3 separate regions of the Homo sapiens genome follow, and all the other regions are linked to region 1. Evidence: promoter capture Hi-C in 16 types of primary human blood cells and fetal thymus (Javierre and others, 2016). All regions are on one chromosome and are shown on one strand. Each heading gives the region's core, a stretch centred on a gene start or on the middle of the fragment in contact. The rest is flanking DNA. Distances are from core to core; before and after follow the strand shown.

The links. Contacts are between HindIII fragments. The CHiCAGO score rates a contact against its expected background, and 5 or more counts as called.
Region 2: a fragment that was not itself captured here is called in contact with the fragment with the promoter of CDKAL1 in region 1 in 1 of 17 cell types (fetal thymus); the score reaches 9.0 in fetal thymus.
Region 3: a fragment that was not itself captured here is called in contact with the fragment with the promoter of CDKAL1 in region 1 in 1 of 17 cell types (non-activated CD4 T cells); the score reaches 6.1 in non-activated CD4 T cells.

Annotation. Positions count from the first base shown.
Region 1 is chr6:20,532,150-20,536,425 of GRCh38, forward strand. CDKAL1 (CDKAL1 threonylcarbamoyladenosine tRNA methylthiotransferase) reads left to right here and starts at 2,308. Exons shown (of 16, transcript NM_017774.3): 1 at 2,308-2,425; 2 at 3,202-3,245. RefSeq lists enhancers at 2,237-2,396, 2,427-2,506. The HindIII fragment of the contact is 2,844 bases long and covers 2,127-4,276 here.
Region 2 is chr6:22,952,543-22,956,962 of GRCh38, forward strand. No RefSeq gene overlaps it. Among named protein-coding and RNA genes, the nearest start is that of LINC03005, 240 kb to the left of the region's middle. The HindIII fragment of the contact is 1,837 bases long and covers 2,138-3,974 here.
Region 3 is chr6:17,707,399-17,711,698 of GRCh38, forward strand. NUP153-AS1 (NUP153 antisense RNA 1) reads left to right here. Exons shown (of 3, transcript NR_134618.1): 2 at 1-228; 3 at 3,391-3,629. Among named protein-coding and RNA genes, the nearest start is that of NUP153-AS1, 2.5 kb to the left of the region's middle. The HindIII fragment of the contact is 1,146 bases long and covers 1,258-2,403 here.

The sequences.
Region 1 (4,276 bases), core at 1,058-3,557:
ACCAATACTCTATTGAGGAGGAGCCGGAGAGGGTTTCCAGTCTTTTGCTATTGTAAGCAATGCTTAAAAAAATACTCTGGAACATAGGTCATTGTAAGCAATGCTTCAAAAAATACTCTGGAACATAGGTCATTGTAAGCAATGCTTCAAAAAATACTCTGGAACATAGGTCATTATGTATATTTCTGTAAGATAAATTCCTAGAGGTAGGGTTACTGACTTCAAAGGATTTAGACTAAAGGTGCTTAAAGAGAGAGGTTTCACCTGTTAGTTAGTTTTTGTAGCCAAAACTTGAAAACATCCTTTCTTCCTCTTTTTTCGTACCTATCAATCACCAAGTCTTGCTGCTGTTACCTCCTCAATTTGTTTAAATCTGTCCTTCCTTCCCATTCCTCCCAGCCAACAACTCAATTTAGGCTTTTACTATTTCTTCATGTCTGAAATATCGTCCTCAAACCCATTGTCCTGAGAGAATAATCTGCTCGAACACATTCATGTTGCCTACTACATACATCCAGGATTAAGTCTAATGCCTTTGAATACACAAGGTTCACCTTGATCTAGTCCCTGTGCTTCCCTTTCTCTGGTAGACTTCTCCCATCACCAGCTTCACTCTCTTTGCTTTTACACTGTGGAATAATTCATCATTTCAGGCCTCCTTGCTTTTGCTCTGGCTGACTCTCCAGCTTGGAATGCCTTCATCCATTTCCCTTACTTCACCTTTGTGTTCCTGTGCATTCATCTTTCATAGTGATTGCTATTCTCTACTGAAATGAATTTTTTCAAAATAGCCTGCAATTGCAATAGGCAGTACTTTTTTTCTTTCTTTTTAGCTCTAGCATCTATCACAGTGCTTGTGGTCATGGGGTACATACTCAGTAAAATATCTTTTACTGAACTCAACTAGATCTTGGGGGAAAAGGGGTGGAGTCATTCATTCATTCATTCATTCATTCAACATATGTTTATTGAGAAGCTATAAACATAGGCACAAGGTTATGTGCTAGGTAGTGCGATTACAACCAAGAAGATAACCCAGGGCCTACTTTTGGTCTAGTGAAAGAGATGGAATTAGATGGGTATGGTGGTGTGCACCTGTAGTCCCAGCTACTTGGGAGGCTAAGGCATGAGAATCTCTTGAGGCTAGGAGGGAGAGGTTGCAGTGAGCTGTGATGGTAACACTGTACTCCAGCCTGGGTGACAGAAGAAGACCCTATCTAAAAAAAAAAAAAAAAAAAAAAAAAAAGTAGGGCAACATAAATACACAATTTTAATTTAGGTGGGTAAAGACAACAGTGGACCCCAGGGCACAGTTTAGATTATTTTATGGATATGGATAAACAGAGAAAAGGGTGGTTTTTTTTTTTTTTTTTAAATCTATTTTAGAGACTGGGTCTCACTGTGTTGCCCAGGCTGTTTTCAAACTTCTGAGCTCAAGTGATCCTCCCACATCAGCCTCTTGAGTAGATGGATGGCATTTTAATTAGATGAAATTGTACTAGGAAAGGCATTTGCAAAACAAAGTAATTGCCCCAAATCACTATGAAACCCTAAGTCAGGCATAAAACTCACGATTTCTGACCCTTCTTCATGGCCTATTGCCTCCTATTACCTTTACTTTTTCAAGTAAAGATATTCTTCTGGTAAACACATGGTCAAATACAGTGTCTTGGGTAACGAATAGTAAAGTGAGATAACATATGTAGAGAAAGCGGGTGAGAATCCGTACTCCATAAAAGTATTTTCTTTCCATAGGTGTCTGCTAAACTGCCATCTAAGTTTTCCAAAACAAAAAACAAAAACACTTGTGTGGTGCTCAATGATGTATATTAAGTGAAACCTACCAACTGACCTTTATCCTTTCCTTCCTGTTTTTTTAATATTAAAGAAGAGACCTCTTTTCACAAATGATTGAGGAGGCTAGTAAAATGCAGTGAAAAGAGCAAGTTCTTTGGGAGTCAGACAGCATCGGATCCAGCCCAGAGCGCAGCACGACTAGTAGAGTAACTTAGATTAAGTCCTTAAACTTCCAGTGTCCTCTTTTGTAAACTGGGAATAATAATAATAATAAATAAATAGTGAATAATATTTATGCAAAGTACTTAGCACAGTGTCTAACACATAAAAGCTTAGGAGAAGTTGGCTATTAAGCATTTCTAGGAACCCGAGGACTCAGGGTTGTTATTTTAGTTCTTGGAATCAAAGGAACTTGAAGCGTAGTCATTCCTAAACTAAGTTAAACCAGAACTAGCGCTTTCAGCAATGATGTAATTTGATCTCTTCGGGCCACCGTCGCTGAGCATGCGCAAATAAACGTGGCGGGACGTATGTGTCATGGCGCTCTCCATCTAAAGTCTGTGCAGCTTCCGGAGAGTGGCGGGTTGATTTTCTCACTTTGGACTGGTTTTTACTTCCCGACTTCTGGGTAAGGGTGGCCGATGGGTCCATGTGGGGCAGAGTGTGGCCACAGCTCCTTTTATGGCCAAGCCTTGTTTCTCCAGTTTCAGTTTTTCTTGGGCTGTTTGCAAATTTGTTTCGCAGTTAAAAGGGGATTTGCCAGCTGGGATGGGGGAATTGGGAGGCAGATGGGGCTTCCAGGAGCGAGGATAGGGTCGTTGGCCTCAGGTGCCGCTCTCCAGTTAGGAGTATTTTAGGCACCTCGTTCCTTATTGTCAGGTTTAACTTCATTTGTTCTCCCACTTTATACCTTAGTGAATTTGTAGATGTGACAAGGCTTTCGCAGTTATATAGCTTTCCCAGATCAGTATGTTAAGAATTTAAGCAGAAGTTATTGAGAAAAGCAGGTGTCTTGCTTTTTCACTTTTCGTTCTTCTTTGCTCATAAAACCTTTTTCTGAATCTCGGGACGACAGTTATCTTTCGGATGGAACGTGATCTGGATGTCTATCTACCTTATTGACTTAATCCTGTTTTGTAGTGGTTGGTTACTCGCACTATGCAGACGTGTTGCGGTGCTGAATACAACATTTATTACTAAAGCCAGACACTGGATCACCGTCACGGCAGATGTCAGCACACCTGTTGTAATCAGTAAGAAGTTACAAGTAGTATGGAGCATCATTAATCCTGCTGTATAAAGCAGTCTTTTATGGAGTCTGATTCCTTTTAAGTAAAGAATCCTTACAGTGGTTTTGTGAACTTTTTGGGTGCTTACTTTTCCTAATCAATTTTTATTTTCCAGACTCATCTTTCAAGAGGACTTTAGACTAATTGCAGATAATTAAGGTACTGATTTATTTTAAACCTTTTATGTTTGAGTGCTGTGCGTATTTCTGCATGTTAGAAAATGCAGAGAGGTAGCCTAATGTTTTAGCTATTTGCCACTATCATGTTATGGAAACATTGTGCTTTACATAGCATTAAATCGAAGAGATATTTTCATTTATTTTACTTAACCTTTCATTTTCATTCACCAGCATTGACCATGTCCACTTTTTTGAGATGCCCTTTTCATTTGCCTTCCATGGCCCATGGATTTTTTTCCTTGTCTGGTGGCTGCTTCTTGGAATCCATTATAAGCTGATTTTCCTTTATCTGGCAGTTAAATTTGGAGTCTCTCAAGTCGTGGTCTTGTACCTTCTCCTACCTCTGTTCTCTTTTTCTTCCCCTCTGGGTGATGTAATCCACATGCCTGTCAACAGTTATTTGTCTTTTTGATTCTACCCATCCTAATGGGTATGAAGTGGTGTATTATTGTGGTTTGGATTTCCATTTCCCTGATGGCTCATGATGTTGACATCTTTTCATGTGCTTATCAGCCATTTGTATGTGTGTGTTTTTGAGACACGGCTTCCCTATGCCACCCAGGCCAGAGTGCAGTGGCTCGATTACGGCTCACTGCAGCCTTGACCACCTGGTCTCAAGTGATCCCACTTCAGCCTCCCAAGTAGCTGGGACTACAGGTGCATGCCACCATGCCCGGCTAAATTTTACTTTTTTTTTTTTTTTTGTAGCGATAGGGTCCGTGTTGCCTAGGCTCTGGCCTTGTACTCCTGGCCTGAAGTGATCCTGCCACCTTGGCTTCCCAGTGTTGGGATTATAGGCATGAGCCTCTGCACCTGGCCCATTTCTGTATCTTCTTCATCTAATCTGTTTTTCCTTTTGTTGCTTGTGCTTTTCATTTCTTAGCTAAGAAAGAAGGGCCTACTCTAACATCATAAAGATTTGTGCTTATGTTTTTTTCTAAGAGTTTCATAATGTTAGCTCCTAAATTTAGGTCTATGATCCATTTTCGGTTAATTTTTGTATATGATGTG
Region 2 (4,420 bases), core at 1,806-4,305, 2.4 Mb after region 1:
AGCCAAACTGATTAGTTGTCCATGTGTCTCTCTCTCCTCTGCTCTCTCAGAAATAACACTAAAAAACTCACAAAAATGTAGACCTATGTATGGCATAGCAGCAGGCTTTGGAGGGAATGTGGTCAACTGAAGGGGACTGTTTTGACTGTCTTGAGACTGAGTTGCTGACATGGACAAACTTGTGAACACCAAATGAAGAAAGGGACGCTCTGTGTTCTTTCAGCTCCTCGCCTCAACAATTTGCCACTGAAGATTTAACAATCTCATCGTTCCCTCCAGACTCAAGGGTGTGTGTTTATATGTCTAGAACAGCAGGCTTTGGGGCTGATTATGTTGTTTCTCTTAAAAACTCACTTTGATTACTGAGAATCTCATAATTAGGCGGTTTCTATACAATATCTGTGCTCCAGAGGCCTGACCACAGGGTTGAAAAGAAAAGAAATGCACAGCTGATTGGAACTTTATGATTTAGATGAAGGATGTGTGTGTCTTGTTCTCTTCCTTGCCCATTGGTGGAAGAGTTCAGGACAATTAGGCAAACTTTCAAAATCTGTGATTACATCTAATGTGAAAATAAGGAATTCCCTGAAGTTGGACATGCATTCATTGAGAACAAAATAGTGTGGTTAGAAGGGTAATATGTTAATTCTAATGAACATAAAAAGATCAGTTCCTGGTTTATAAGTATGATTGGACTTAGATATTCACGTAAAGAAGATTCCTTAATGCATGCTGGGCTTAATATCTCAGTGATGGGTTGATAGGTTCCGCAAACCACCATGGCACACGTTTACCTATGTAATACACCTGCACATGCAGAACTTAAACTAAAAATAAAAATTAAAAAGAAGAAGATTCCTGACTTTCACTGGTATCTTCCAATCCCTCACTCAACCCACTGATATGAGAATAATTCTAATCTAGAGCACCTTTGCTGTCCTGACAGCCATTGGGTTTTATTGACTTCGATATGTTGTATGCTGTAAAAATTCACCTGCAACAATAGCATTGCACTAGGTTTTAGGGATCTAGAAAACACTGGCCTGTTCTGGTTTTGCATTCACAGAATTATTTTCATGGATTTGATTCTACAATCATGTAGATCCTAGTTTAGGTAGGTGAAGCACCCTTTTACACAGAGTTGAGAATAATTTTTAGAGCAAAGCTCTACATTTTGGGGAGAGAGAAATGGAAAAAAAGATATTTATCTCTATTTTTTTTTCAAGTATCATAGATCTTCCAAGGAAGTTTTCATTACAGAGCCAAAGTCGATTACAACTTTGAGAAGCTAGAAGTAGAATCTGATTTCTGGGGGATTAATTCTTCCCTCGTTCAAATAGCATATATGAGAATGGAAAGCTGCCTGTGAGAAATATGTTGGAGCGTGTGCTGGGACAAAGTCAACAGGTGAGACTCCTTCAGAAAACCTCTTGGGTGTTAGCATTGCATTTTCTGTTTTAGAATAATGCTTGGCAGATAATAAAGAAAAAATAGGTATCTAAAGGTTGTATATGTTATGTGACCCTTATTTAACGTGAAGGCACTGTCTATCAGGCCAGGTTCATGCCAGGTAAAGTCACAAGAGCATATCCCCCTGCTTGGTTTTAATCACATTGTGGGAAAGTGTTATTAATGAAATATGTATTATCTCTTGAAACATTAAAAACCCAGAAATCTTTTAATTTGCCTTAATAATATAATAATATGTTCCTGAGAGCGGGGAAGTTTTAACAGATTCAGCCACTCTCCAGATCTAGGAGATGATTTGGGGCTTTCATAATAAATAATTAGTATGCTATCTAGAATTAAAATTTACAATATGAAAGTCTAGGAAAAATAATTGTTGGAGACACGAGAAACATTGAAAGAATTTGACTCGCCTTATAAGTACCATCTGCTTGAGTGTTCTTAAAGATTCACAGATGTTAAGATTCTCTATTTAAAGTATCATACCTGTCTAACCTATTATTTTACCCAGCAAAGGCCAAGATGAACAAAATATAGTACAAAAAAATTTAAAAAATAAAAAGATACCAGAAACACTAGCAAACCAAATCAACACCTGTTTCTTTCAAACCTTGAAGGGGCGGAGGATTATATTTGAAGTATGTTCATATTTAAATAGTAGTAAAAAAAAAGCTTGAATAATCTGCAATCAAGGAAAACATTTTAATCCAATTTCAACTAAAATGACAAACTGAGAATATCGAATCTAGGGAATAGTTTTGTTTTCCATCCACACAGCATCAAAGAACACATAGAGATACGGACTGAAATATCCACAGGATAAAAGCCTTCCTACACCTTAGAAGTTCAATATTAAGCAGTTCTAAATGTACTTATTTTTCTGTTTCTTTTTCTTTTGGTTTCAGTTTCTGTTTGTAACCCGCTCTGGTTAGTAACCTATAGAGTACAAAGCTAATAGCTTTTAGCTGAATAATTTCTGCTTTGAAAGGAAACTCATAGTGTGATGACATTCTCAGGTTATCTTGTAATTGATTGTTTCTAATGGATGAGTCTTTTTGTTTAACTAAGGATTTCTGACCTTTAAGACTGTTAGTATTTTTAGGTGGTATTTACTCTGTTGATATCTTCCTTTCATTGTTTCTCTGCACTCTTTGTGCGTAGTTTCTGTGTTTAAGCTAGCAATTTCAAACATTTTGAAAGTAAACACTTAATCTCCTCGGTGTGTATACTTTCTGGTCTGTGCCTGTGAAAACACTCTCCTAATGCATTAGAGAGATGTTGAAACTTTGGTTTCAGAAAAACCTTAGAGCTTCTTGTTGCTGAGGGAGAAGGGAGACTTAATGTGGCTTACCAAATTTGGTTTGTTTTCTATCTGAACTTTGGCTTATTATATCTAATTATATCAGACCTTGGCATTTTAAACACTTAATGAGAAAAGAGGAAAAGAAATGAAATCCTTCAAGATCTTTATATCATGGATTATTTTCTACTACTTAGGAATGATATGGGGTAAAATAATGGCATCTATTCTGCAAGAATAATATCAGGTTATAAATTATCTGCCAGGTGGTTTGAGGCAATTTTCCCAGGTTGGAAAAAGATGAGGGGACATGTCCACATTTTACCAGTAAAATAAAGTCTAAAAAAAACCTTTAATGATGTTCTAAAGGAGAGAATCAAGCAACCAAGGGGTTTGGGAAATCTGACAGAATTAATGGAACCCTGTTTTTTCTTAATTTGTTTTGTGCTTAAGGACTTGGAATTCTGTAATAAATGTTGAACCCCTAATTTACATTGCCTGGAGTTGCCAAGCTCACTCCTGCTTTCAGCTAGCCCACCTGAATCCTTGCCCAATGGCATGGCCCCTGGAGTGGGAAGGTTGGCATGAGAGTGAAATGATGCCTGTGATTCACTGCACCCTAAAGTGGATGTCACCCCATCTTTGAAAATCATTCCTGTGTTAGTTAGCCAAGCAATCCTGTTTGTAAGGAACATGGAAACCTCTCAGGACTCTTCTAAGAATAACAGCAATAATAAAAAGTGAGGTACTTAAGCAGTCCCAGCAAGCAAGAAAATGCAACAAATACCATTCCATTTACCAGCTTTCAAAAATTGAAAAAAGGAGATTTAGCACAAAGTGCACTTAAGAAAGAAAAATCAAGACAGTCTAGCAGAAGCTGGGGGAGGAGGGAACACACGGAGTAAAAATTCCCTCTGAGCCCACGGAAAGCAATAAGAGTTCTCATTTAACCTTGGAAAATGACTTGAGAATCACTTGTACTTTGAAACGAATCTAAATTGCAAACTAATTTCCCAGTGGGATATGTTGATGGCCTACTGTACACAGCATAAATAATGAGTTTGCAACCAGGACCCCAAATAAAGCAGTGCACGTCTGTGGAATTTATGAGCATGTTTCCCCACCTCCACCATCTGACATTGCAATGTTAATGCTTCCAGTTAGGAGTTTTACTGTGTCAGCAGGTGAATTCCCTGGCAGTAAGTCAAGCTTTAATGGAACATGCTGGTAGGAACGATTACGCTGCTGCAGTGTAAAACTCTGGTGTCAGTATTAGGCTCCTAGAATACATGGGCATGGACTGCCACCTACCCTGTTTGCAGGTGTTCTTAGCTGTTTGACTTTCAATACTTTACTTTAAGTTGACCATGACAAAGTAAAATTTCTATCTTATAAAGGATTTTAGAGCTGGCTGATATAATGAGGTCTAGTCACACCTTCTTTTTTATATAAGGAAGAAATCCAAGGCTGGAGGGGTAAAGTGGCTGGCTAGATGATACATGTTAATATGTGGTCGAACTGGGACTCTAAACTAGGCCTTCCCTACGCCTTTGGTGTTCTTATAAAGGATGCTGCCTTTGCTGGAATCAAAAAAGGTGGATGCAATACATTTCATAAATGTATTTAGAAAAACTTGGCAAGAATTTGAATCTG
Region 3 (4,300 bases), core at 581-3,080, 2.8 Mb before region 1:
CGGGGCTGGAATTCTGGTTCTGCCACCCAACCTATTTGACCTTGGATGAATCAAAACCGTCTGAGCCTTAGCTTCCTCCTCCATAAAATGGGAGCTTTAAAATCCACCTTATAAAGCTGTTGTGAGGAGCAGACGTGATCATCTATGGAGAGCATGTATATTTGCTAATAGACGAAAAATGCGATGAATGATTACAATTATAACCCATGCAGTCAGCTAACATTAGGGGTAAGTGATATATCCTTAACAATAAAAGTATACTATATTTGCTCCAAATATTTAGGAAACTGAGTAAGTGAGCTAGACTCAAAGACTGAATCCACAAAATGTATATTCTAGGAGTTGACGATTAGAAAGGTCCTGGTGATCACATAGTCCAACCCTCTCATTCAACCAACCAGACAAGATGTCCAGAGAAATTTAGGTGGCACAATCAATGACACTGAGATGGGTAATCAAAGCCAGGACTATAACCCAACTTTTCTGTAAGAGCTAAAGACAAATAGCCAAATGATTAGGGAGGAAAAATATGTTGTGAAAAATCTTAGACTTACTATAAATCTTTTTTTTTCTTTCTTTCTTTCTTTCTTTTTTTCTGAGAGACAGAGTCTTGCCCTGTCGCCCAGGCTGGAGTGCAGTGGCGCGATCTTGGCTCACTGCACCCTTTGCCTCCCAGGTTCAAGCTATTCTCCTGCCTCGGCTTCCTAAGTAGCTGGGACTACAGGCGTGCACCACCACGCCCAGCTGATTTGTGTATTTTTAGTAGAGATGGGGTTTCGCCATGTTGGCCAGGCTGGCCTTGAACTCCTGACCTCAAGTGATCCACCCGCCTTGGCCTCCCAAAGTGCTGGGATTACCCGTGTGAGCCGCCACGCCCAGCCTATTTACTATAAATCTCCCACTTACTAGCTGTGTAGCCTTGGGGAAGTTACTGATCCTGTTTCTTTCTTTTTTTTTTTTTTTTGAGACGAAGTTTTTTCCTCTTGTTTTGCCCAGGCTGGAGTGCAATGGCGCAATCTCAGCAACCTCCACCTCCTGGGTTCAAGCGATTCTCCTGCCTCAGCCTCCCGAGTAGCTGGGATTACAGGCATGTGCCACGACGGCCGGCTAATTTTGTATTTTTACTAGAGATGGGGTTTCTCCATGTTGGTCAGGCTGGTCTCGAACTCTCAATCTCAGGTGATCTGCCCACGGCCTCCCAAAGTGCTGGGATTACAGGCGTGAGCCACCGCGCCCAGCCCACTGATCCTGTTTCTAAGCTTCGTTTTTTTCATCAGCAAATAGAGCGAATATTGACCTCACAGGGTAGTGGTCTGGTGAAAGGATTAATGTATATCTAGTTCATAGTAACTGCTTAGATAGAAAGCATCCAATATCAACCATCAATCAGATATAAATAATTAGTTCCAAGACATTTATACTATCTCCACAATCAAACTGCACAATTCAGGTTCATTGTTTAAATCATACAAGTGAAATTGTAAAGCCAGTCTTCTAGTACCTTTGAACTTGTACCTTTCAGCGCCTAAAGAAACTATGCTATACCAAGCATAGGTGTACACATCAATGGCTTTCAGTGGCACCTCTGACCATAACCATCAAGATCAAGACAAGTTGCCAAATATGATAAACAAAATTAATCTATTTTCCGCTGTCTCATCCTAGCTTCATGCCTCCTCCCACCACTAACTTCCCACTAAATTCTCCAGGTATGCCCCCTCTTCCTCCTGAAGCACTTCATCTTTCTTAAAGACAGTTGTTTCCCTCAGGTGCTATCTTCCTCCTATGCAGAAATCCTATTCTTCCACAAATCCATAGCTAGATATTTGACAGCCAAGTAAAGTAATTCACGATAAGCTAACTCATAGGGAAGATCTGTACCTGAATCTTTAATTGGGTTATACGTAGAGGAGATTAAACCATAGCCACATCCCATCTGCCCTCTTCACTCTATGAGACCCAGAGTTTCCACCACAGAACAGAGGACTGACTGGAATCAAAGCTCACCCCTTTCTTGGAGGCTATTCTTTGATGTGCTGGACACCCTTCACAGCCAACCTTTGAAAGGAAGAGAGACGCGAAAGAATTGGGCCAAATGTAGACAATGCTTCAGAAATAGAAGATTGGTAGAACTTGAGGAGATATGGGAAAATCCACATTCCTTTTACCCATGCTCTCAACTTTTTACCCATTTCCACAATTATTTTATTTCTTGGAAGTAAAATAGTATTTGAGGGAACTATAATGCATTAATCTCACATTCATGTGATTGAGTCATTGGAAGCCGTGCCAGGCTTGAGAGCAGAGAAGGAATAAAGAGACAGGAGGAAATCTGCATTCAACCTGGACCTAGTTTTTTCAGCCAAATAAATGGCATATTGGGAGACACTGCAATTCATGAAAAGCTTGTTGCTACAATAGTCCTCCTCTGCCAAGAAACTTCTTTATTTTGTTCCCCATATAATATAGTAGAAAGTGGCCGAGCACAGTGGCTCACACCTGTAATCCCAGCACTCTGGGAGGCCAAGGCGGGTGGATCACTGGAGGTCAGGAGTTCGAGACCAGCCTGGCCAACATGGTGAAACCTGTCTCCACTTAAAAAAAAAAAAAAAAAAATTAGCTGGGCGTGGTGGTGCTCACCTGTAGTCCCAGCCACTCGGGAAGCTGAGGCAGGAGAATCGCTTGAACCATGGAGGTGGAGGTTGCAGTGAACTGAGATCATGCCACTGCACTCCAGCCTGGGCCACAGAGTGAGACTCCATATCAAAAAAATTAAAAAATTAAAACAACAAATATATATATATATGTATATATATATATGTAACCAGCTGCCAATTATAAATTAGCAAATAGGCTGCTGACCCATCTCTAATAGATAAGGAGTATCCACTAATTAAAAGTGAAATACAATTTAGTCTAAACCCAACCTAGATTGAAAAAGAGCCATCATACATTCTTCAGAAGGTACTAATACAATTCTGGCCAAAAGAATGTTTAAAGATGACAAGTACAAGAAGTTACGAAATTTTATGTAGTTATTCCACCTTACCAAAACAAAATGAGGTATCTGCTGTGATGTCTATTAAAACAAATTATCACACTCATGCACAGCATAACAATGTTTCAATCAACAATGGGCCCAATATACAATGGTGGTCCCATAAAGAGCTGAAAAATTCGTATTGCCTGGTGATACTGTCTTTGTCCTAAGGTCTTATTGCAACACATTACTCACGTGTTTGTGGTGATGCTGGTATAAACAAACCTACTGTGTTGCCATTTGTGTAAAAGTGGAGTATGTACAATTATGTACAGTACAGAATACTTCATAATGATAAGTGGCTGTTTCTGGTTTATGTATTTACTATACCTTTTTTTTTTTTTTAACAGGCACTCCTTGCCATTTCCTGTTGCTACCATACTTTATTATTTTAAAGTGTATTCCTGGTCAGGCATGTGGCTCACACCCATAATCTCAGCACTTTGGGAAGCCAAGGCAGGAGGATCACTTGAGGCCAGGAGATTGAAACCAGCCTGGGCAACATAACGAGACCCCTTCTCTACAAAGAAATGAAAAAATTAGTTGAGCTTAGTGGTGTGCACCTGTAGTCCCAGCTACTAGGGAGGCTGAGGCAGGAGGATCACTTGAGCCCAGGAGTCTAAGGCTGCAGCGAGCTATGATCTCACCACTGCAGTCCAGCCTAGGTAACAGAGTGAGACCCCATCTCTAAAGAAAAAAATAAAGAAAATGAAGCTATTGGGTTTATTTATTATTTATTTATTTATTTATTGCCTGTTTGCTTGTATTTTAGGGAAAGAAGGGCCACACAACGGAAAGATATTTAAGGATGTAAATCATTGTATTCTCATTAACTTACTGTGTTCTCTCTCTATTGGGAATAAAGTAATATTTAAGACTAAATTAACTAATATGAGCAAATTTTGATTAACTACATATATCACTTGATTCCAACATGCCATATATTTCCTCTTCCTGACTACATGTATCAATGTATACTAGACTTTGGTATATATGTGTTTATGTACATTACATTATAGTTTAAGGCATATTTTAAATTCAATCTTGAATGGAAACTCAGTTTTATTGGATGAAATAATAACCAAATTTAGGAAGGCAATCCCATCCTAACATTTAAGACAGTTAATGAATTAACTGAGATTAATTCATTAAAACACAAATATTTATTGAGATATTTATGTGTTGGTTTCTAGTCTTGGCATTTAGTATGTCAGTATACAAAACTGTAAAACAATCTCTGTCTACATATTATGCTACACT